5 separate regions of the Homo sapiens genome follow, and regions 1, 2, 4 and 5 are each linked to region 3. Evidence: promoter capture Hi-C in 16 types of primary human blood cells and fetal thymus (Javierre and others, 2016). All regions are on one chromosome and are shown on one strand. Each heading gives the region's core, a stretch centred on a gene start or on the middle of the fragment in contact. The rest is flanking DNA. Distances are from core to core; before and after follow the strand shown.

Region 1 (4,132 bases), core at 844-3,343, 140 kb after region 3:
TTTCTTTGATGACTCAAATGCCTACAATAATTTCTCAGAAGTCAGCCTGCATAAAAGACATACGCATATTTTCTGCTGTGACACCAATAAGATAACAAAAGATGGCATCAAGGACTATTTCAGGTGCCCACTATGGGGCATATAAAAGATATTGGTCTAGAGTATTTATAACTGAGGTGGGTCAAAGGAGACACCCACTAAAAGAACTCCCCCAAAGTGCAAACACATACTGGCTAGCACCTGGAGAGGACAGGTGAGGCTCTGCAGGTAAACTGGGAAATGAACCATTTTACTGGAGCTCTTAAAAGATGATGCAGAAAATCATGATGCAGTATGCTAATGAGTCTGGACATTGGCCTATGAGAGCCACTAAAGCTGTTAAACAGAAGAGCAATAATAAGATCAAGGTCACATCAGTTGTTTTCAGACTTTCAGTCAATGAATTCTCTATTCCTACGAATTTTTTTCTTAGAAACTCAAAAATTTAACCCAGATGAAAGTAAAGCAGCTCTGGCACATGTGTGTGCACATATAAACACAGTCATCTGTTGCACTCTTAAAAGCATTTGAAAAATTGAGCTTTGGATGCCTTGCACAGAGGACCGATCATAATTATATCCTCAGCATCTTCGTACAGTACTGTGTGCAGAGTGGGAGTCAGTGTTTGTCCACTGAGTGCAAGTTCTTGTAACTTAATTGCGACAGGATATGGAATTTCCAAACAATTAGAGGGAAGTTTTAAGTCTTAACTTTAGGTCATGAAATTCAGCTAACAGATATATCAATCCAAATGATGGACTGGTCATGACTGCTAATAGAAGGAATTTCTCCTTGTTATTAAAACAACTACACCAGAGGCAAGCTAGCCTGCCACTTAGACAAATCACACTCTAAGTTTTAAAGTCTAATTTCAGTTTTTCTCTTACAAGAAAGTCTTTTAGAAAATTCTTTTTACATTACCTAAAGGCACACCGTGCATTACAAAAACTAATAATGCATTCATAAAAGCATTCAAAAGAAAATTACAGCTGTAGCTCCTTTCTTATCTTCCCACCCTTAGAAATGACTCTACTCTCTTACACTGCTTTCAAAAAACACTCAGATATAATTAAAAGCAGAATTGATGCTCTTTGTACATTGAAGTGATTCAGTGTATGTACCTTCAAATTGATTTTAGGTTCCAATCACACACAAAACAATTAGTCCATGTTTTTCCATTTGGTCCATGCCTAAGCAATAAAAAGCAAATTACGGCTATATTCTCCCAAGCTGCCATGATGATGAATGGGGTAATAACCATACTGTTTCCATGTCATGGGAACTCATGATAATAAGAATGAGCATTAAGTATTTATGGCAAAGATATATTATGAGCTAAGGTCCAATATACCTACAGATACTTAATAACTAAAGGAAAAGTCTACATAAATACAATCTTAGACATGTAACAACCAACGCCACTACCCAAGCAGCTTGCTCTCAAATTTCTACCAATGTGACAATTATTATGTACCCATAATAATTAAAAAACAATTTAAAGAGGCAAATCTAAGTTTCTAACAATGTACTATCATCTAAATGACCATTTCTATAATAGACCTCTGTTCTAAAGACAAGGGTACCCATATTGACACAGGTGTTTTGTTAACTATAAAGCAAGCATTATTCAAATGTAAAGGCTTGGTTAATAACTGGTTGTTATCACACCAGCTTTGTATGTTAGCATTTTATTCATTCAACCAACATCATGAACTTTGGTTTCCTCACCTGCAAAATGCAAATACCTATCTTCACTGAGTTGTTATGAAGATTTCATTATTAATGGACATGCAATAAACAGCAAGTTCCTTTGATGGCTAAGCACTGCACCGGGCCCTGGAGGCATTAAGAATGTAAAGAGATCCTGTTCTCAAGAAACTCAGAATCCCTAGGAGCACCTACAATTCTTGATAAGCTTCAACTGTTTTTTCCTGGTATCAAACAGGAAGGGAAAGTTCAAGAGAAAAGACTGAGGTGTTTCACAAAAAGCTACAAGTTTATTAACATAATGTATTCCAATATGTATCAAAGTTTCAAGCAGGTCATTTTGAACCTCAAATAAGAAATCACAATATTTAGTATTAATTAAAAAGGAAAAAAAGGTGGTAGTTGTCATTCGTGGGATTTAGTCCAAATGAAAATGTAGAAAACATTTATTTTGGTGGATCTGTGTTGATGCCATATTTCTCCTTGAGAAGCTTCAACTGTTCCTCCTTCTTCTTTGTGTCCATCTTCTGAAATGCCTGGAAATGTGGTAAGCACCAAAATTAAATTACCAATCTACAGCCAAATGAATTTCATCAATAGCATTAGCCAAAAAAGAAAGTCATAGTAGACATATATCATCACAGTACAGTTCTACACTAATTCTCTTGAGACGGAGTCTCTCTGTTGCCCAGGCTGGAGTGCAGTGGCGTGATCTTGGCTCACTGCAGGCTCCACCCCCTGGGGTTCACGCCATTCTCCTGCCTCAGCCTCCCGAGTAGCTGGGACTACAGGCGCCCGCCACCACGCCCGGCTAATTTTTTGTATTTTTAGTACAGACGGGGTTTCACCGTGTTAGCCAGGATGGTCTCGATCTCCTGACCTCGTGATCCGCCCACCTCGGCCTCCCAAAATGCTGGGATTACAGGCATGAGCCACCGCGCCCGGCCAGTTCTACACTAATTCTCAAATGAGATCACTACACAATGAGAACTTTGCTATACTTACCCTGTTGGCATTATAGTACAAAACCACAAGGTATCTGTTACAAACATTGAATCCCGATAGGTGATCACATGCATTCTTGGCATCAAAGATGTCCTCATAGACCACATAAGCTGTTCCTCTAGTTTCAGGTGTGTTCCCCCTGGAGAGGTAAGTTAAACTTAATTAAGATATACATTTACCTGAGCATTGATAGTTGACTTACAGAACTGTCTTTTAAACTGGTAACTGTCTTTTAAAAACAGTAAATTGAAATACGTTTTTAGTTAAGTATTTTGAAATCAACCTGAAACCATCAGAGGAAATAAACATGGATAGATATACCGGATAAGCCTGTAATTTCTTGAATTAGGTAATTTTGTTCTTCGTTTTTATCTTAACTAAAATATCCATAGGTCAAGCTGACTGTCACATCAGGAATACTAAGAACACAGCTACTACACAGAACAGCCTCGTGAGTTGTGGGGACTACAGGTGCTCTTGCCACCCTGACTGGCTCTACGTTGTCTTTGTTTTGTTTTGTTTTTGTTTTTGTTTTTGTTTTTTTGAGATAGACTCTCACTCTGTTGCCTAGGCTGGAGTGCAGTGGCACAATCTCAGCTCATTGCAACCTCTGCCTCTCAAGTTCAAGTGATTCTTGTGTCTCAGCCTCCCAAGTAGCTGGGACTGGAGGCATGTGCCACCATGCCCAGCTAATTTTTGTATTTTTAGTAGAGACAGGGTTTCATCATGTTCCCCAGGCTGGTCTTAAACTCCTGACTTCAAGTGATCCGCCTGCCTCAGCCTCCCAAGGTGTTGGAATTACAGGCATGAGCCACCACACCCGGTCTACATTCATTTTTAATACAACTCAAGTGCTAATGCACGATACAGCTGTGTGGCTAGGGAGAAGGGCTAGGCTTCTGCAAAGATGGGAGTGGAAGTGTGCTTGTGGATAGGGTTATCAGTGAGCCAGGGCAGAATGCTGGAAGGTGGCTGGAAGTGGAAGCTAACCTTACTTATGGATACGAGGTTGCTGTTAGTGTAGTTATTCCTGGCCACTTCCTTCCTTCACCTCACCAACTTCCTCTGGGAGAGGTAGAGAAGTTTGAGGAGCAACGCAACGCTAAATTGCAGGCAGCAGGTGGCCATGTGACTGTTAGTGGAGACAATGGGTAGAGGTCCCACTCAGTTCAGGCTCTGGGTGACAAGATGGCCCCCTTGCCTCCATCTGTGTTCCAACCACCCAGTGCAACTGTGGAATGAGGTTTAAGACTGTGGGCTGACTCTCCATCTGCCACAGTCCTTACATAGGGTTGAATAAAAGCAGTGGAGCCATGGGAAGAGGAGGTACCTGCCTAGACTTGATCTAGGATAGGACTATAGTCTGGGCCCTGTTCAAGCT
Region 2 (3,935 bases), core at 425-2,924, 200 kb after region 3:
GTCTACTCTGGACATTTTATACAAATGGTATCATACAATATGTGGTCCTTAGTGACTGCTTTCACTTAGTATAATGTTTTCAAGGTTTGTCCGTGTCAGAGCATAAGCAGTACTTTATTCCTTTTGATGACCAAATAATATTCCATTGTCTCAGTATCACATTTTGTTTATCCCTTCATCAGTGGATGGACTTTTGGGTTGTTTCTGTTTTTTTGCTGTTATGAATAATGCTGCTATGAACATTTTGTGTAACTTTTTAGGTAACATGATTGCAGTTCTCTTGGGTATGTAACCTAGGAGTGGAATTGTTTGTTGGGTCATATGGTAACTATATGTTTAACTTTTTGAGGAACTGCTGAACTGTTTCCCACAGCAGTGATACCGTTTTAAATTTTCATAGCAATGTATGAAAGTTACAATTTCTCCACTGCTCAGAGTTCATTGAACTTCTTGTATCTGTGGGTTTATAGTTTCTGACAAATCTGGAAAATTTTCAGCCATTATTTCTTTTTTTTTTTTCAGCTGAGTCTCACTCTATCACCCGGGTTGCAGTGCAGTGGCATGATCTCAGCTTACTCCAACCTCCGCCTCCCGGGTTCAAGCAATTCTTGTGCCTAAGCCTCCCGAGTAGCTGGGATTACAGATGTGCACCACCATGCCCAGCTAATTTTTGTATTTTTAGAAGAGTTGAGGTTTCACCATGTTGGCCAAGCTGATCTTGAACTCCTGGCCTCAAGTGATCCGCCTGCCTTGGCCTCCCAAAGTGATGGAATTACGGGCATGAGTCACTGTGCCTGGCCTATTTCTTAAATTATTTTTTCTATTCCCTCCATCTTTTGGGAAATACAACTGTATGTACAATAACCTGCTTGAAATTGTCCTGTAGCTCACTGATATTCTGGTAATTTTCTTCAGTTTTTCCCCCGTGCATTTCATTTTGGAAAGCTGCTGTTGCTATGCTTTTAAGTTCACTAACTTTCTGTAATGTCTAATCTGCTAATAAACCTACCTAGCATATTTTTATCTCAAGTATAATTTGTGTCCCTAGAAGTTTTATCTGGATTCTTTTGTTTCGTTTTTTGTTGGTTTGTTGCTGTTGTTGTTGTTGTTGAGACGGGATCTCTCTATGTAGCCCAGGCTGGTCTTGAACTCCTGGCCTCAAGTGATCCTCCTACCTTGGCCTCCCAAAGCACTGGGATTACAGGTGTGAGCCATCATGCCTGGCCCTTAGCTCTTTTTCAAACATTTTTTTCTGTCTCAACATGTCTAGTCTTCTAGCTTCCCTAACTTATGAACTACAGGAATAATAACTTTTAATGTCCTGGTTTAATAATTATAGTGTCTTTGTCATTTTGGGGGCAGTTTTGGTTAATTTTCCTTCTTATTATTGGTTAAATTTTCCTATTTCTTTGTATACCTGGTGATTATTGGTTAAATTTTCCTATTTCTTTGTATGCCTGATGATTTTTGATTAAATGCAAGACTGTGAATTTTAACCATATTGAGTACTAGATATTTTTGATTTGCTATAAATACTCTTTTTTTTTTAAGTACAAGTGCACAGATTTCCCATAAATATTTTTCATTTTTCCCCTTGGATTCAGTTAAGTTACTTGGACACAGCAGGATTCTTTCAGGTCTTGCCTCCGAGTTTTGCTTGACAGGACCACAGCAGTATCTACCGTAGGGCCAATTTTGTTTCAGTACTGATACAAAACCTCTCCAAATACTCTACTCTATGCACTTCAAACTATGGGAATTTTTTTTTTTTTCCTCTGGCTGATGCTAAAGGGAACAAACACTCCTGGGACTGTGTGACCTCTAGGGATTGATTCCCTAATTCTTGCAGGTGTTTCTTTGCCCATTGTTCCTTTGGGCATGTAGTGTTTACGATCAGCTGAAGACTCAAGGGGACCTCTGCGGTTGACCCTTTGCAGTTCTCCAGAGCTCCATCTTTCTTGTAGCTCTCCTCCCTCTAGTACTCTAACCTATGAACTCCAACTGCTCTGGCCTCTCCAGACTCCCATCCCCACTCCTCAATTCAGGCAGACAGTTGGGCTGTTTGTTTTCTATTTCTCAGGGGCCACTGTTCTTCTTTGCCTGATGTTCGATATCTTGGAAACTGTTGTTTCATCTATTTTATCTTTTTTTTTTTTTTTTAGTTGTTTCAGGTGGGAGAGTAAGTCTGTTTCCTGCTACTCTGTCTTGTTCAAAAGTGAAAGTTCTCATCCAGACATTATTTTTTCAAACAGTTGTTTCCTGCTCCATTCTTTTACTCCTCACTTCTGCAACTCTATCCATTTGCTGAATCGTTTGATATTGTCTCATAGGTCACTATGACTCTGTTTATTATTTTCTAATCTTTATTCTTCCTTTTTTTTCAGATTGGGTAATTTCTAATAGTCTGTCTTCAAGTTCACTGACTATTTTTATGTCATCTCTAATCTGCTACTAACCCATTGAGGTTTGTTTATTTCTCAAATTTAAGAACTGTATTTTCCACTTGGTTTTTTATCATTTCTATTCTCTGCTAAGATTTTCTATTCATTAATTATAAGCATATTTTTAAGCATAGCTATCATAACTGTCCTCAAATCCTTGTCTTCTTTTTTTCAGATTTTCATGTCAATATAATTTTCTTTTTATTTTTCTTATTTTACTTTAAGTTCTGAGATACAAGTGCAGGACGTGCAGGTTTGTTACATAGGTATATATATGCCATGGTGGTTTGCTATCAACCTGTCATCTAGGTTTTAAGCCCTGCATGCATTAGCTGTTTGTCCTAATGCTCACCTCCCCTCACCCCCAGCCCTCGACTGGCCCTGATGTGTGTTGTTCCCCTCCCTGGGTCCATGTGTTCTCATTGTTCAGCTCCCAGTTATGAGTGAGAACATGCGGTGTTTGGTTTTCTGGTTCCTGTGTTAGTTTGCTGAGTATGATGGCTTTCAGCTTCATCTATGTCCCTGCAAAGGACATGATCTCATTCCCTTTTATGGCTGCATAGTATTCCATGGTGTATATGTACATTTTCTTTATCCAGTCTATCATTGATGGGCATTTGGGTTGGTTACATATCTTTGCTATTGTAAATAGTGCTGCAATAAACATACATGTGCAGATGTCTTTATAGTAGAATGATTTATATTCCTTTAGGTACATACCCAGAAATGGGATTGCTGCGTCAAATGGTATTTTTGGTTCTAATATCCTTGAGGAATCGCCACACTGTCTTCCACAATGGTTGAACTAATTTACATTCCCACTAACAGTGTAAAAGTGCTCCTGTTTCTCCACAGCCTCACAAGCATGTATTGTTTCTTGACTTTAATAATCACTATTCTGACTGGCATGAGATGGTATCTCATTATGGTTTTCATTTGCATTGCTCTAATGATCAGTGATGTTGAGATTTTTTTCATGTGTTTGTTGGCCATGTAAATGTCTTCTTTTGAGAAGCATCTGTTCATATCCTTTGCCCACTTTTTGATTTTTTTTTCTTGTAAACTTGTTTGTTTTTTGTAGGTTCTGGATATTAGAGCTTTGTCAGATGGGTAGATTGCAAAAATTTTCTCCCATTCTGTAGGTTTCCTGTTCATTCCAATGATAGTTTCTTTTGCTGTATAGAAGCTCTTTAGATTAATTAGATCACATTTGTCAATTTTGGCTTTTGTTGCAATTGCTTTTGGCATTTTTGTCATGAAGTCTTTGCCCATGCCCTGAATGTTATTGCCTATGTTTTCTTCTAGGGTTTTTATGGTTTTGGGTTTTACATTTAAGTCTTTAATCCATCTTGAGTTAATTTTTGTATACAGTGTAAGGAAAGGGTCCAGTTTCAGTTTTCTGCATATGGCTAGCCAGTTTTCCCAGCACCATTTATTAAATAGGGAATGCTTTTATTAAAGGAATTCTTTATTAAAGGGGAATCTTTTCCCCAT
Region 3 (3,852 bases), core at 439-2,938:
GATCTTGTAGACCCCTAGAACATAAAATATTGCTTTCCCCCAATAAGAACCACAAAATGGTGTGGAATTAAAGGAGCATTTTAAATGAACAGCTTTTTCCAGCCAAATTACTTAGCAAGTCAACCTCTTTTAGACAGAAGCAATACACTCTTCTCTGAATTCAGAAACAATCTCATAGTAAAACAAACGTGTCAATTCCTTTAAAACAATAAATATCTGTGCTTAGCTTTATAATGTAGGTAATAAAATTTCAAGATCTTTCAATCAGTTTTTTAATTCAATCACCAGCGTCTTTAAATGTCATTTTTGCAACTGCATGACTATGGTGTTCATTCACCTTTTGTAATATAGTCCCATAACAAAAATGTAGACACCCAAGAAACCACACAGTTTTGGCATGATGGTGCTGACTATCCGAAACATTCCACTTGTTTCTTTCGACGTGCTCCTTCTGTGACCTGAAAGCTCTGGTTCCTACTAGCACCTTGGTGAGCTAGCTGGCTGGTTCCCCAGCTATAATATCATGTTTGATCTCTCCTGCCTGGAGAGGCGATAGCGTTGATTTTGTTTTTAAAGTTGGTGTCAGAGCAGCTACAAACTTTTTTCAGCATCCCTGCCTGGCTGCCAACTGGAGCTCTCTGTTCACTTCCTCACCAACTTGAACCACCCCCAAACTGAGAGTAAGCTGGAGTTAGACAGCGGCAGGAACTGACACACTTTCAAGAAGGGTTTGACACCGCAGAAAACTTTCACTTCTCCAACCCTTCCACCCAGGGGCTCTGGCCCTTCGCTCTTGCTTCCCCGCTAGAATTCCCCTCTGGGGCAGGACAAGGACACGGACAGCAGATCGTTCGAATGACGCCGAAAGGGACCCCCAAAGCCCTCTCCCCTGGACTCAAGGGCTGTTCTTCACACAAAAGAGCCGGGCCAGCTTGAAAAGCAAAGGGGCCAGCGTCGCGGCCCTTCTCTGGGTGCCACCCTCCACCGCGCCCGCAGACCCTGTCTCCAGCCGCCCGAGCGGTCTCCACTGTAGGCTTCCTACCCCCAACCCGGCCAGACAAAGCCCCGGCAGCAGGGCCGGCACTTCCGAGCCTCCGGACTCGGGACGCCGCGCTCTTACCCTGGCCTCATCCAGAGTGACGCCGGCGCCACCGCTTCCCCCGGCTTTGGCGGCGGGGCAGCTGGCGGCGCGGGTCTTGGAGGAGCGGGTCCGAGAGGAGATGAAATGGCTGCTGCCTCCGGTCGCCCCAGGCTCTGCTCCGGCCCCAGGCCCAGGCCCGGGACCAGGAGACTTGGACCCGAGAAGGCGGAGAGAGCTCTTCCGGGTGTTCACCATGGTCCAGCCAGGGGGACGGAGTCCACGCCGCGCCCGGGAGAGCCGAGCAAGGCCGGCCCGCCGGCCGGTCAGTCAGGGCCAGCGGAGCCGAGCCGGGCAATGAGAGACGAGCCGGCCCGGAGCGTGCGGAGCGCAGACGAGCACAAGAGAGAGCCGGGCAGAGGAAGGGAAGTCGGCGTGAGCAGGCGGCGTGCGGGAAGCGGGGGCGGTGCTGCAGACCGGCAGCACAGACACTCCGCCGGCTTCGCCCTCCTCAGCGGGAGCCGAGCGGAGCCGCCATTTCTACCCCTTTCTCTCCCGTTCTCGCTCTCGAGCTCCGTGCGTCAAGGCTCCAGCGCCGCAGGGCCAACGAGACCGCTTCCGGCCGCAGCCACGGCGGGGCGCTGCGAAGCCGGCCAGCCCTTCCCGGCTGCTCGCTCCTCTCCCTGCCGCCTCCAGCTGCCCCGCCCCCGGCGCGGCGTCAGCGCTCGGCGGCCGGGGAGCGACGCTCTAGGCTGTCAGCTCGGTGGTTTCCAGCTCTCCCCGACCGCAGGGCTGGGGCGACCAGAAAAGCCAGACTAATCAGGACGAGTTCGGGCGTGGAATTGGGCCTGAAGCCCTCATGCCCAGCCAGGCCTGAATGCCCCAGACCCCACCGTCACCCCCGTGGCCTGGATGGAGCAGGGGACGGCCGGCGAAGGCGCGGGGTGGAAGGGGAGCGGCGACGAAGGCGCGAGGAGCTGACTGGGAATCCCCAAGCTACCCGAGGCAAGACACTGAACTTGAGTCGCACTTTTCATGCCTGTAGAAATGAGAATGACAGCTGTGATAAAAAAAAAATTCATCTGGGCGGTATCTGGAACTTGGTAAGCTTAAGAAGAGAAGGGGGGGGGGAAACACCATGCTAGAACTCTGCGTTTTTAAACAAAGCGAGGCAGGGTCGTTTTCTATCCCCTTAGCCAGATCTAAGGCGGAGCCAAAGAATGAGTACCCTGTAAGAGCCGCCTCTATCGCCGCCCCCTGCCCCCGGCCCGCTGAAGAATTAAGAATACAAAAAGCTGAACCCACAGATAAAGCATTTGCAATTTAACTTCCAAAGAAAAAAAAATTAAGCCACACAATTCATATGAAAAGCTCTGCTGTAGGCCGGGTGCGGTGGCTCAAGCCTGTAATCCCAGTACTTTGGGAGGCCGGGGTGGGTGGATCACCTGAGGTCAAGAGTTCTAGATCAGCCTTACCAACATGGTGAAACCCTGTCTCCACTAAAAATACAAAAAATCGATGGGTGTTGTGGTGGGCACCTGTAATCCCAGCTGCTCGGGAAGCTGAGGCATGAGAACCACTTGAACCCAGAAGATGGAGGTTGCAGTGAGCCGAAATCACGCCACTGCACTCCAGCCTGGATGACAGAGCCAGACCCTGTCTCAGAAAAAAAAAAAAGAAGAAAGAGAGAGAGAAAGGAAGAAAGAAAGGAAAGAAAGAAAGAAAAAGAAAGAAAGAAAAGCTCTGCTGTAAAGTAGGAATTAGGTTCATTTCAAAAATTCACAGTACAGGCCGGGCTTACGCCTGTAATCCCAGCACTTTGGGAGGCCAAGGCGGGCGGATCACTTGAGGTCAGGAGTTCGAGACCAACCTGGCCAACATGGTGAAACCCCCTCTCTACTAAAAATACAAAAAATTAGCCAGGTGTCGTGGTGCATGCCTGTAATCCCAGCTACTTGAGAGGCTGAGGCAGGAGAATCGCTTGAACCCGGGAGGCAGAGATTGCAGTAAGCCAAGATCGTGCCACTGCACTCCAGCCTGGGTGACAGAATGAGACTCCATCTCAAAAAAAAAAAAATAAAATTCACAGTACATTAGACATAGCCTACTGTTTATTGGGCAGGAGTTTATTAAACTGTTTATTAAACTAAGAAAAATTGAAAACTCAGGAAAAGTCCTGAAAATGACCAAATGGCATCAAACTTAGAGCATTCTGGCCATCTAAGCTCCCAATCATTCCAAAAAACTGTACAACACTGGAAATGACAATTTTTTTTGTTTGGGAACCAGTATGGATTCCAGAATAGATAAATCCTTCTGACACAATTTGCATACCACATCCTCTCCTGGACACTTCACCTGCCACTTAGAGTTGATGTCTTAATGGGTGGGATTCCTCATAATGGAACCATACCTGGATTTTCCTGGGTCAAGTAGCTATCACATCACTGAGCAGCATAAACAAGTATCAATTCCTGTGGAAAGAGGCTGGTTTGGGCCAGGCACTGTAGCTCACACCTGTATTCTCAGCACTTGGAGGCCGAGGCGGGAGGATGGCTTGAGACCAGGAGTTGGAAACCAGCCTGGGCAACATAGTGAGATCCTCTCCCTGCCAAAAAGAAAGAGAGAGAGACAGGGTCTCACTCTGTCACCCAGGCTGGAGTGCAGTGGCACAACCACAGTTCACTGTAGCCTTGACCTCCCAGGCTCAAGCAATCCCCCTGCCCCAGCCTCCCTGGTAGCTGAAACTACTGGGTGTGGTGCCTGTGGTCCCA
Region 4 (4,432 bases), core at 1,511-4,010, 240 kb after region 3:
TGGGCATTCTCAGATAATAAACAGCCTCTGGTTATGAAGACAGTCTGTTCAGTAACTAATATGGCCAGTCTCGTATAACATAATGACCAAAGCTTCAATCTTCATTTAAGGTCTCCCTCCCCGCGTTTGGGGCTGCTGAAGCTGGAGCTATAAGAAAGAAGAGGGAGGTAGATGTCTTCTCTCTTTCCCTTCTTACTCTCCTATTCCTTACCCCTGTTTCTTGCCACTGTGATTTCTGATATCTTCAGAGTCCACAGTGGGAGGGAGGAAAGAGAAATAATGGGTGGGTAGGAAAGTTCTTACCTATTAATTTTATGATGATCTATTTCAGTGTAAGGCATTCTCTGGGCTTGGCAGGGGTTTGAAGCTAGTGGTTTTTCTCATGGGGCACTTCCAAGTGATCTTCAGAGAAAATTCCTATTGCTTGGAATTTCTCACCGGATTTCTTTTCCAGGTGTTTGCTTAGGACTGTCTCTGGCTCTAAGCATCTGATGGAACTGCCACTACTTCATTCTTCACTTAGGAACATAGCCTCTATCACCTAAAGAGATACTGAGACTAAAATTAGATCCATTTCAGTATCTTTGTAGATGCTCATCCTATACCCAAGAGGAGATATACAGTAGGCAGGTGGATGTACCGGTCTGGAGTTCAGGGGAGACTGGGGGTGGAGACAGGTTTTTGAGAGTCATCCTCATATAGATGCTATGTGAAATCATGCAATCACCTGGGGGTGAGTGTCAAAGAGAAGAAGGCCGAGGGTTAGTCCTGCGGAACGCCAAGATTTAGAGGTTGGGGCAAGGAGGCAGAGCTGGTGAAGGAACATTCATGGAGCGAGAGGTTGGTATGGAAGGAAGCAAAGCAGAAGTATGTGCTGCTGCAGAGGCCCAGTAGAGAAAGGGTTTCAGAAAAGAGGGCATGCCCAGCCATGTGGCAATGCTGCTGAGAGGGAGGTAAAATGAGGACTGGGGAGATATAGGCCTAACTGCTGATTTTCATCAGAGAGGTTAAGTGGAGCAGCTGAAATGAAAGCTGATTAGAGTGGGTTCAGGAGAGAATTGGGGTGAGGAAGTGGAGACAGAATAAGCAATGCTTTTGTGGGGTTTTGCTATAAAGTGGCTGGAGAAGGTAAGGTAAGGGAATATTTTTATCAGCGATATTGATATTATAACATGTATGTTTCCTGATGGGAATGCTCCCATAGAGAGGGAGATTTGATGATGCTGGAGAGAGAGGGGGTATAATAGAAGGGCAGAGTCCTTCCACAGGTGAGGAGGCAGCACCCTGGACTCAGGTGGACAGGACACTCTATCCATTGTATGAAGAGGGAAGGCTGAGTACATGGATATAGGTCAAACTAGCTCAGTGGATTTTGCAAAGGAAGATTGTTTCCTTCTGTTTACTCATTTTCTCAAGTGAGATCATCAGCTGATCGCGAGGCACAGAATAGAGAATTTAGAGGTTTGAAGAGAAAAGGGAAGAAAGGAACCTAGTATTTTCTAAATCACAACAATCCAAGTGGAAATTAGTACTCCAAACATGTTGACATCTGAAAGCTGAGACCACAGGGGTTCCCTCAAATCATGTCACACATCAGTGATCCACCCCATCTATTTGACCATGTCCCTGAATCTCTCAGTGCTTCTGACTCCAGACAGCGCGAGGAAAGGCTGAGGCAGGAGGCCTAGGTGGAGACCCTGCCTGAGAGATGAGTCACTCGGCTCTGGCAGGACAGGCTTCAGGGGGATCAGCTCAGCTTAGCTGGGGAACGCTTTCTGCTCTCGTAAGCCCCTCATCCCCATACCACACTCAACTCTTCCCTTTTGTCACCTTCAAAAGGTTTCAGCAACCAAGGAGCACACACCCTGATCCTTGATTGGTGAAAGGATACACAAAATCAGGCTGCTTCAGAGGAAGTCATCTGCTCACAGGAATCAGGGTGAAGGCCAAGGACGGCACTCAAGAATTGTCCTGTCTCTAAAAAAAAAGCATCTGCAACGAACTTCCTTTAATTTTTGAGTTCAGTGTCTGTGATAATTAAGAAATGGCAATACCATGTATTTTCCCCAGAAGTTAAGAAATATTGCTGAACGAACCAATAAAAATAATTACAGCTCCCTCACTAAGTGTCCATCTCTGTATATTTGGCTTGTTCCTCAATTAAGGTATGCTCCCTTTGGTCATGCACACTTCATGGCCACATCCACATATCCTCCCCAGGTTTTCCCAACATTCTTTAGAAAATTTAAAAATTCATTTGGGGTTGGCCAGGTGAGGTGGGTCATGCCTGTAATCCCAGCACTTTGGGGAGGCTGAGGCATGTTGCCCAGGCTGATCTCGAACTCCTGGGCTCAAGCGATCCACCCGCCTCGGCCTCCATCTGAACACCTGTCTTGAGGTCAGGAGTTCGAGACCAACCTGGCCAACGTGGCAAAACCCTGTCTCCACTAAAAATACAAAAATTAGCCAGGTGTGATGGCACATACCTGTAATCCCAGCTACTTGGGAGGCTGAGGCATGAGAATTGCTTGAACCCTGGAGGTGGAGGCTGTAGTGAGCCGAGATTGCACCACTGCACTCTAGCCTGGGTGACAGGGCAAGACTCCATCTTAAAAAAAAAAAAATTCATTTAGGGTATAATTACTCACTTGCTGATTCTAAACATTGCCCTCTGGCTCATGTTGAGTTTGAATCTTGGTCACAGGAAGACACAGTAGGACACAGAGCATAGAAGAGTGGAATTCTGTTTTCCTTAGGCAAAGGGACACCATGGTAACCTTTTCAAAAGACTTGGGGGAGTCTGACTTCTTCAGTTCTGTCTGTTCCCCAAATATATATAATTCCAAGATCCCCCTCTTTCCTAGTCAATGCCCTAGATTTCATATAAAAGACTGGCAGCAATGTTAATCCATCTGGAATTGCAATTCAGCAACCTACAGGATCAATTTATGAACTTGAGGGCCACAGATGGAATAAGATTTATTAAAAATAGTGGCCCTATATTTTAATGCCTTGCACATTCTGGCATCTGAGCTTTATATTATCTTGCTTTAAATTATCCATTTTTCTCTCATTCCATATTCCTCATCCTCTTTAAATTATTCTACCCTGACAGTTATCTAGTCTCCCAACATCTCACCCCTAATCAATATATGGTTCTAAGTGAAACTAGATTTTCTTTCTTTCTTTCTTTTTTTTTTTTTTTGAAACAGGGTCTCGTTCTGTTGCCCAGGCTGGAGTGCAGTGGCATGATCATGGCTCACTGCAGGCTGGACCTCCCAGGTTCAAGCAATTCTCCGCCTTTCAGCCTCCCGAGTAGCTACGACTACAGGTGTACGCCATCATGCCTGGCTAATTTTTTGTATTTTTTGTAGAGATGAGGTCTCACCATGTTGCCCAGGCTGATCTTGAACTCCTGGGCTCAAGCGATCCACCCGCCTCAGCCTCCCAAAGTGCTGGGATTACAAGCATGAGCCACTGCACCTGGCTGAAAACTAGATTTTTAAAACTTTATACTATGCACAATTTCAGAGAATTACAGAAAAAATAATTATAATTGTATAATGAATCCTTATGTTTCTGACATCCAGCTTCAATACTGATTACCTCATGTCCAGTCTTGTTTTGTGTATATGCATACCTACTTCTCAACCCTAACTGGATGACTTTGAAGCAAATCCCAGATGTCGTATCACAAATATAGTTGCTCATTCCACATGGTGAAGAGAAGATGCCTTTCCTTTCCCTGCACTTTGACACGAATACCAATTCCAAATATCTCACATTTCCTCTGAAGCCTTGTACTATTTCTGTATTATTTGAGATCATTTGTATTGCAAGTAACAAGCTAACCAGAGCTAACATAAGCACAAATGGTCCCTGGTGGTCTAGTGGTTGGGATTAAAAAAAAAAATTTCATTGAAAGAGTGCCAAAGCATCTTACAGAACCCTGAGAAAAAACTGAATTCCACAGGAATGGCAGGAACCTTGACAGCACTGGCCCCTGAGCAGCAGGCATCTCAGACCCTTCTAGGCTGTTGTCATGAACGTGACTCACAACACCTTTCCAAGTCTCTGTTTTGGTTAGACGTCTATAATCCTAGAAGAAAGACAGGAGAATCTGATCCTAGACTTGGGTCAGGTGTACACTCCTTGACCAATTAGCCACAGAGAAGAACAGGGAGGTGCTGCCATCGAGTCCACCTCTGGCCAGGTGAAGTGGCTCACGCCTGTAATCCCAGCACTTTGGGAGGCCGAGGAGGGTGGATCACCTGAGGTTAGGAGTTTGAGACCAGCCTGACCAAAATGGCAAAAGCCCATCTCTACTAAAAATACAAAAATTAGCTGGGCATGGTAGGGGGGCACCTGCAAGCCTAGCTACTCAGAAAAGCTGAGGCGGGAGAATCGCTTGAACCCAGGACGGGGAGGCTGC
Region 5 (3,969 bases), core at 157-2,656, 140 kb before region 3:
CATTGGTTCACACTGGTTGTGATACATAGTATTCACTCATTCCTGACCCCTTCTTTAATGCACCACTCAAGCTGATGCTTTCTGTGTGATGCCTTCCCTAACTTTCCCAGATGCACTTAGGCACACCTTCCAATATTTCTGAAAAAACAGTTCAATAATGTTCAGTAAATTTTTACAGATGTGTAGCCATCACAAGCACATTTTAGAACATTTCCATTACCCCAAAAAGTTTCCTCAGGCCTATCTGCAGTCAATCCCCACTCCCACTCCCATGTCCCAGCCTAACAACCACTGATAATGCTTTCTGTCTCTAGAGAATTGCCTCTTCTAGACATTTTGTATCATACAACTGACAGTCTTTTATGCCTGGCTTCTGTCACTTAAAACTTCAGGTTTTTCCAAGTTGTAGTATGTATTAGTATTTCATTCCATTTATTGCTGAATAGTATTTCATCACATTTTGTTTAGCCATTCACCAATTAAGGAACATTTGGATTGTTTCCACTTTTTGCTAGTATGAGTACAACAACTAGAAACATTCCCATACAAATGTCTTTCTGTGAAAGTATGTTTTCATTTCTTTTGTGTAGATAACTAGGAGTGGAATTGCTGAGTCATACCATAAATTTATGTTTAACTTTGGAAAGTGGCTGCACCATTTTACAATCCCACCAGCAGTATATAAGGACTCCAGTTTCTATATCCTTGCCAATACTTGGTATTCTTTATTTTTGATTACAGCTATTAGGTTGGTGCAAAAGCACTTTTTTTTTTTTTTTGCAGCTTTCAATGGCAAAAAACGCAATTACTCTTGCCCAACCTATATTTTAGTGGGTTGCAGTGGTATTTCATTCCTGAATGACTGATAATGAGCATCTTTTCATACACTTATCATCCATTTACATATACTCTAAGGAACCTCATATAAAAGGAATTATACAAAATTTGTCCTATGACTAAGTTAGCATAATGTCTTCAAGCTTCATCCATGTTACAACATGCATCAAAATTTTCTCCTTTTTAAGGCTAAATAATGTTCCATTGTATATGCTACATTTTGTTTATCCTTTCAACTATCAATGGACACTGAGGATGTTTCCACCTTTTGGTTACTATGAATGATGCTGTTGTGAACATGGGTGTGCAAATACCTGTTCAAGTCCCTGCTTTCAATTCTTTTGAGTAAGTACCTAGAACTTGATTGGCTGGATCATATGGCATTTATATATTTAAGATAATGTCATACTGTTTTCCACAGTGGCTATACAATTTTACATTCCCACCAGCAATGCAAAAAGGTTCTCCTTTTTCCACATCCTCATCAACATTTGTTAATTTCTGTTTTTTTTTAATAACAGCCATCTTTTTTTTTTTTTGAGACGGAGTCTTGCTCTGTCGCCCAGGCTGGAGTGCAGTGGTGCAATCTCGGCTCACTGCAAGCTCCGCCTCCTGGGTTCACGCCATTCTCCTGCCTCAGTCTCCCAAGCAGCGTGCCACCACGCCCAGCCTAATTTTTGTATTTTTAGTAGAGACGGGGTTTCACTACGTTGGCCAGGATGGTCTCGATCTCCTGACCTCGTGATCCACCAGCCTCAGCCTCCCAAAGTGCTGGGATTACAGGCATGAGCTATGGCACCTGGCCAACCTTTTTGTTTTATCGAATTTATTAACACATTCCTTAGAATTGTTAGTCCCCAGTTTTGAAGGTAGGGTTCCTGCAACCTTTGTAATAAGAAAAATTAATGGTTAAGAACTTAAGATCTAAAAAAAAAAAAAAGAACTTAAGATCTCAATAACAAAAGGTGTGAAAAAGAGGTCAGAAATAAACCTAAGAAAGCTTTCATAAATAAAATTTGCTTTGCTCAAAACAAAATAGGATATCAACCCATTAAATAAAAATAGAAATAGTTTACATATCTCAAAATAGTAACTATGTTTACCTACTATCCTATTTCACTTAGGGAAAAAAAACTTGTGGCCGGGCACGGTGGCTCACACCTGTAATCCCAACACTTTGGGAGGCTGAGGTGGGTGGATCACGAAGTCAGGAGATCAAGACCATACTGGCTAACACAGTGAAATCCCTTCTCTACTAAAAATACAAAAAATTAGCTGGGCGTGGTGGCGGGCGCCTTTAGTCCCAGCTACTCCAGGAGGCTTAGGCAGAAGAATGGCGTGAACCCGGGAGGCAGAGCTTGCAGTGAGCCGAGATTGTGCCACTGCACTCCAGCCTGGGCAACAGCGAGAGACTCTGTCTCAAAAAAAAAAAAAAAAAAAAAAAAAAAACTTGAGAAGATTTCCTTCCTCTTAAATTTTAAGAATCACGTAATTGTTTTATTACCAAAATATTAATATTAAAACAGTTCCCTTGTATCTTATGATCATTAATCTGAGTTTTCAATGCCCCTACTTGATTTTTCTAATTGAAGTTACTGATTTTCCCCTCCCAGGTCCTACCATAAACCTAGAGAGACAATGACAAGAAACATTTAAGATAACAAAATGCTATATGTAATCTTACTTTCATCAGCATAGCTGAGGAATATTTCTTTAAAATTCATTTCCAATATACTGAATTATATAATCTTAAACCTGCTCATAATAATTTAATAACAAAGCAGATACTGTGAATGTCTTCAGAAACAGAAATACAATTCTGGCCAAGGTTTACATTCCTTCCTACAAATATCTCTAATTTATTTGCTTCCTCCCTTAAGAGTCTTTTTTCTGTGCTCAACCTTAAATTAACTCTCTTCTCTAATTCTCCATAAATACCTTGCAATTCCCATATATCTCAAATAAAATTCTCCAAGTATCTTCAGAAAGGGTTTATAAAAGTAAATTTACTTACACTACAATTCTGCATGGTTCTCAAGTGGTCAAAAATTTAAAGAAAAAATATTTTAAAAGAAAGAATTATGCAGAAAGCGAGTGAGGCTGGGCAAGGGTTACTTAAATCCTACGTGATGATTCAACTGTTAGTTCCTTTTTTCATGCAGCAAACTTTTACAGAGTAATTCCAATGTGTTAGCACTGTGCTAGGAATGGGAGAAATGATGGCCAGTAACACCTGAAAGTGCTAGTGGTCTAGAGACCAGAGGTGCACAAACTTTTTGGTCTCAGGACCCCAAAAAAGCTTTTATGTATGTGAGCTATATGCATCAATATTTACAGATTTTAAATAAGCCCATTAGATATTAACACTAACATTAAAAGAATAAAACATATATTCTTTTGAAAAATATATTTTTCCAAAATATAGAAAGAACATAAAACACATAAAACAAAATTTAGCGAGAAAAGTGGCACTGTTTTATCTTTTTTTTGAGACAGCGTCTCACTCTGTCACCCAGGCTGGAGTGCAGTGACACGATCTTGGCTCACTGCATCCACCTCCCAGGCTTAAGCGATCCTCCCACCTCAGCCTCCTGAATAGCTGGGACTACAGGCACGCGCCATCATACCCAGCTAATTTTTGTATTGTTTGTAGAGATGGTGTTATGCCATGTTGCCTAGGCTGGTCTCATACTCCTAGGCTCAAGTGATCCGCTTGCCTCAGCCTTTCAAAGTGCTGGGATTACAGGCATGGGCCACCACATCCAGCCAGCACTGTTTTAAATGTTTTCAATTCTCTTTTGTGTCTGGCTTAATGGAAGACCACTGGATTCTCATTTCTGCTTCTGTATTCAATCTGTTACAATATGTTGTTTGACTGAAGTATATAATGAAAACCCAGACTCAGCAGATATGTAGTTGGAAATGAAACTTGATAATCCCCTGAAAAAGTCTTGGGGGCTCCTCAGGGGTCCTTGGACCACACTTTGATAACAGCTGGTCTGGTGCAATGATTTCCAAACTTTTTTGATCAAACACCTCATCAGTAAAAAATCTGAAAATATTCTCATTACTATATGCATATTTATTTAAATATACTATTTTGCTAATATACTACTTGGAAATAATATATTA

What was found. The method cuts DNA at HindIII sites, captures the fragments that hold promoters and counts their contacts. A CHiCAGO score of 5 or more calls a contact.
Region 1: a fragment that was not itself captured here is called in contact with the fragment with the promoter of ATAD2B in region 3 in 17 of 17 cell types (total CD8 T cells, naive CD4 T cells, megakaryocytes and 14 more); the score reaches 15.7 in total CD8 T cells.
Region 2: a fragment that was not itself captured here is called in contact with the fragment with the promoter of ATAD2B in region 3 in 1 of 17 cell types (naive B cells); the score reaches 5.1 in naive B cells.
Region 4: a contact is called between a fragment that was not itself captured here and the fragment with the promoter of ATAD2B in region 3, in 2 of 17 cell types (megakaryocytes and M2 macrophages). The highest score is 6.4, in megakaryocytes.
Region 5: a fragment that was not itself captured here is called in contact with the fragment with the promoter of ATAD2B in region 3 in 1 of 17 cell types (megakaryocytes); the score reaches 6.5 in megakaryocytes.

Annotation. Positions count from the first base shown.
Region 1 is chr2:24,065,570-24,069,701 of GRCh38, forward strand. SF3B6 (splicing factor 3b subunit 6) reads right to left here. Exons shown (of 4, transcript NM_016047.4): 3 at 2,752-2,890; 4 at 2,017-2,282. The coding sequence ends at 2,193. Among named protein-coding and RNA genes, the nearest start is that of SF3B6, 8.7 kb to the right of the region's middle. The HindIII fragment of the contact is 283 bases long and covers 1,953-2,235 here.
Region 2 is chr2:24,127,163-24,131,097 of GRCh38, forward strand. All of the region lies in intron 2 of FAM228B (family with sequence similarity 228 member B), which reads left to right. Among named protein-coding and RNA genes, the nearest start is that of FAM228B, 5.7 kb to the left of the region's middle. The HindIII fragment of the contact is 6,726 bases long and covers 1-3,935 here.
Region 3 is chr2:23,925,435-23,929,286 of GRCh38, forward strand. It overlaps ATAD2B (ATPase family AAA domain containing 2B), which reads right to left and starts at 1,689. Exons shown (of 28, transcript NM_017552.4): 1 at 1,121-1,689. The coding sequence starts at 1,336. It also overlaps a transcript of UBXN2A not described here. RefSeq lists enhancers at 356-605, 704-1,622, 816-865, 1,623-2,539, 2,126-2,215 and silencers at 1,346-1,425, 1,626-1,955. The HindIII fragment of the contact is 2,488 bases long and covers 1-2,184 here.
Region 4 is chr2:24,167,517-24,171,948 of GRCh38, forward strand. It overlaps FAM228B (family with sequence similarity 228 member B), which reads left to right. Exons shown (of 11, transcript NM_001145710.2): 10 at 111-167; 11 at 1,840-2,122. The coding sequence ends at 153. LOC105374328 (a long non-coding RNA gene) reads right to left here. Exons shown (of 4, transcript XR_939833.4): 2 at 304-541. Among named protein-coding and RNA genes, the nearest start is that of FAM228A, 5.3 kb to the right of the region's middle. The HindIII fragment of the contact is 5,340 bases long and covers 91-4,432 here.
Region 5 is chr2:23,790,705-23,794,673 of GRCh38, forward strand. The region is part of intron 19 of ATAD2B (ATPase family AAA domain containing 2B); the gene reads right to left. Among named protein-coding and RNA genes, the nearest start is that of ATAD2B, 130 kb to the right of the region's middle. The HindIII fragment of the contact is 857 bases long and covers 979-1,835 here.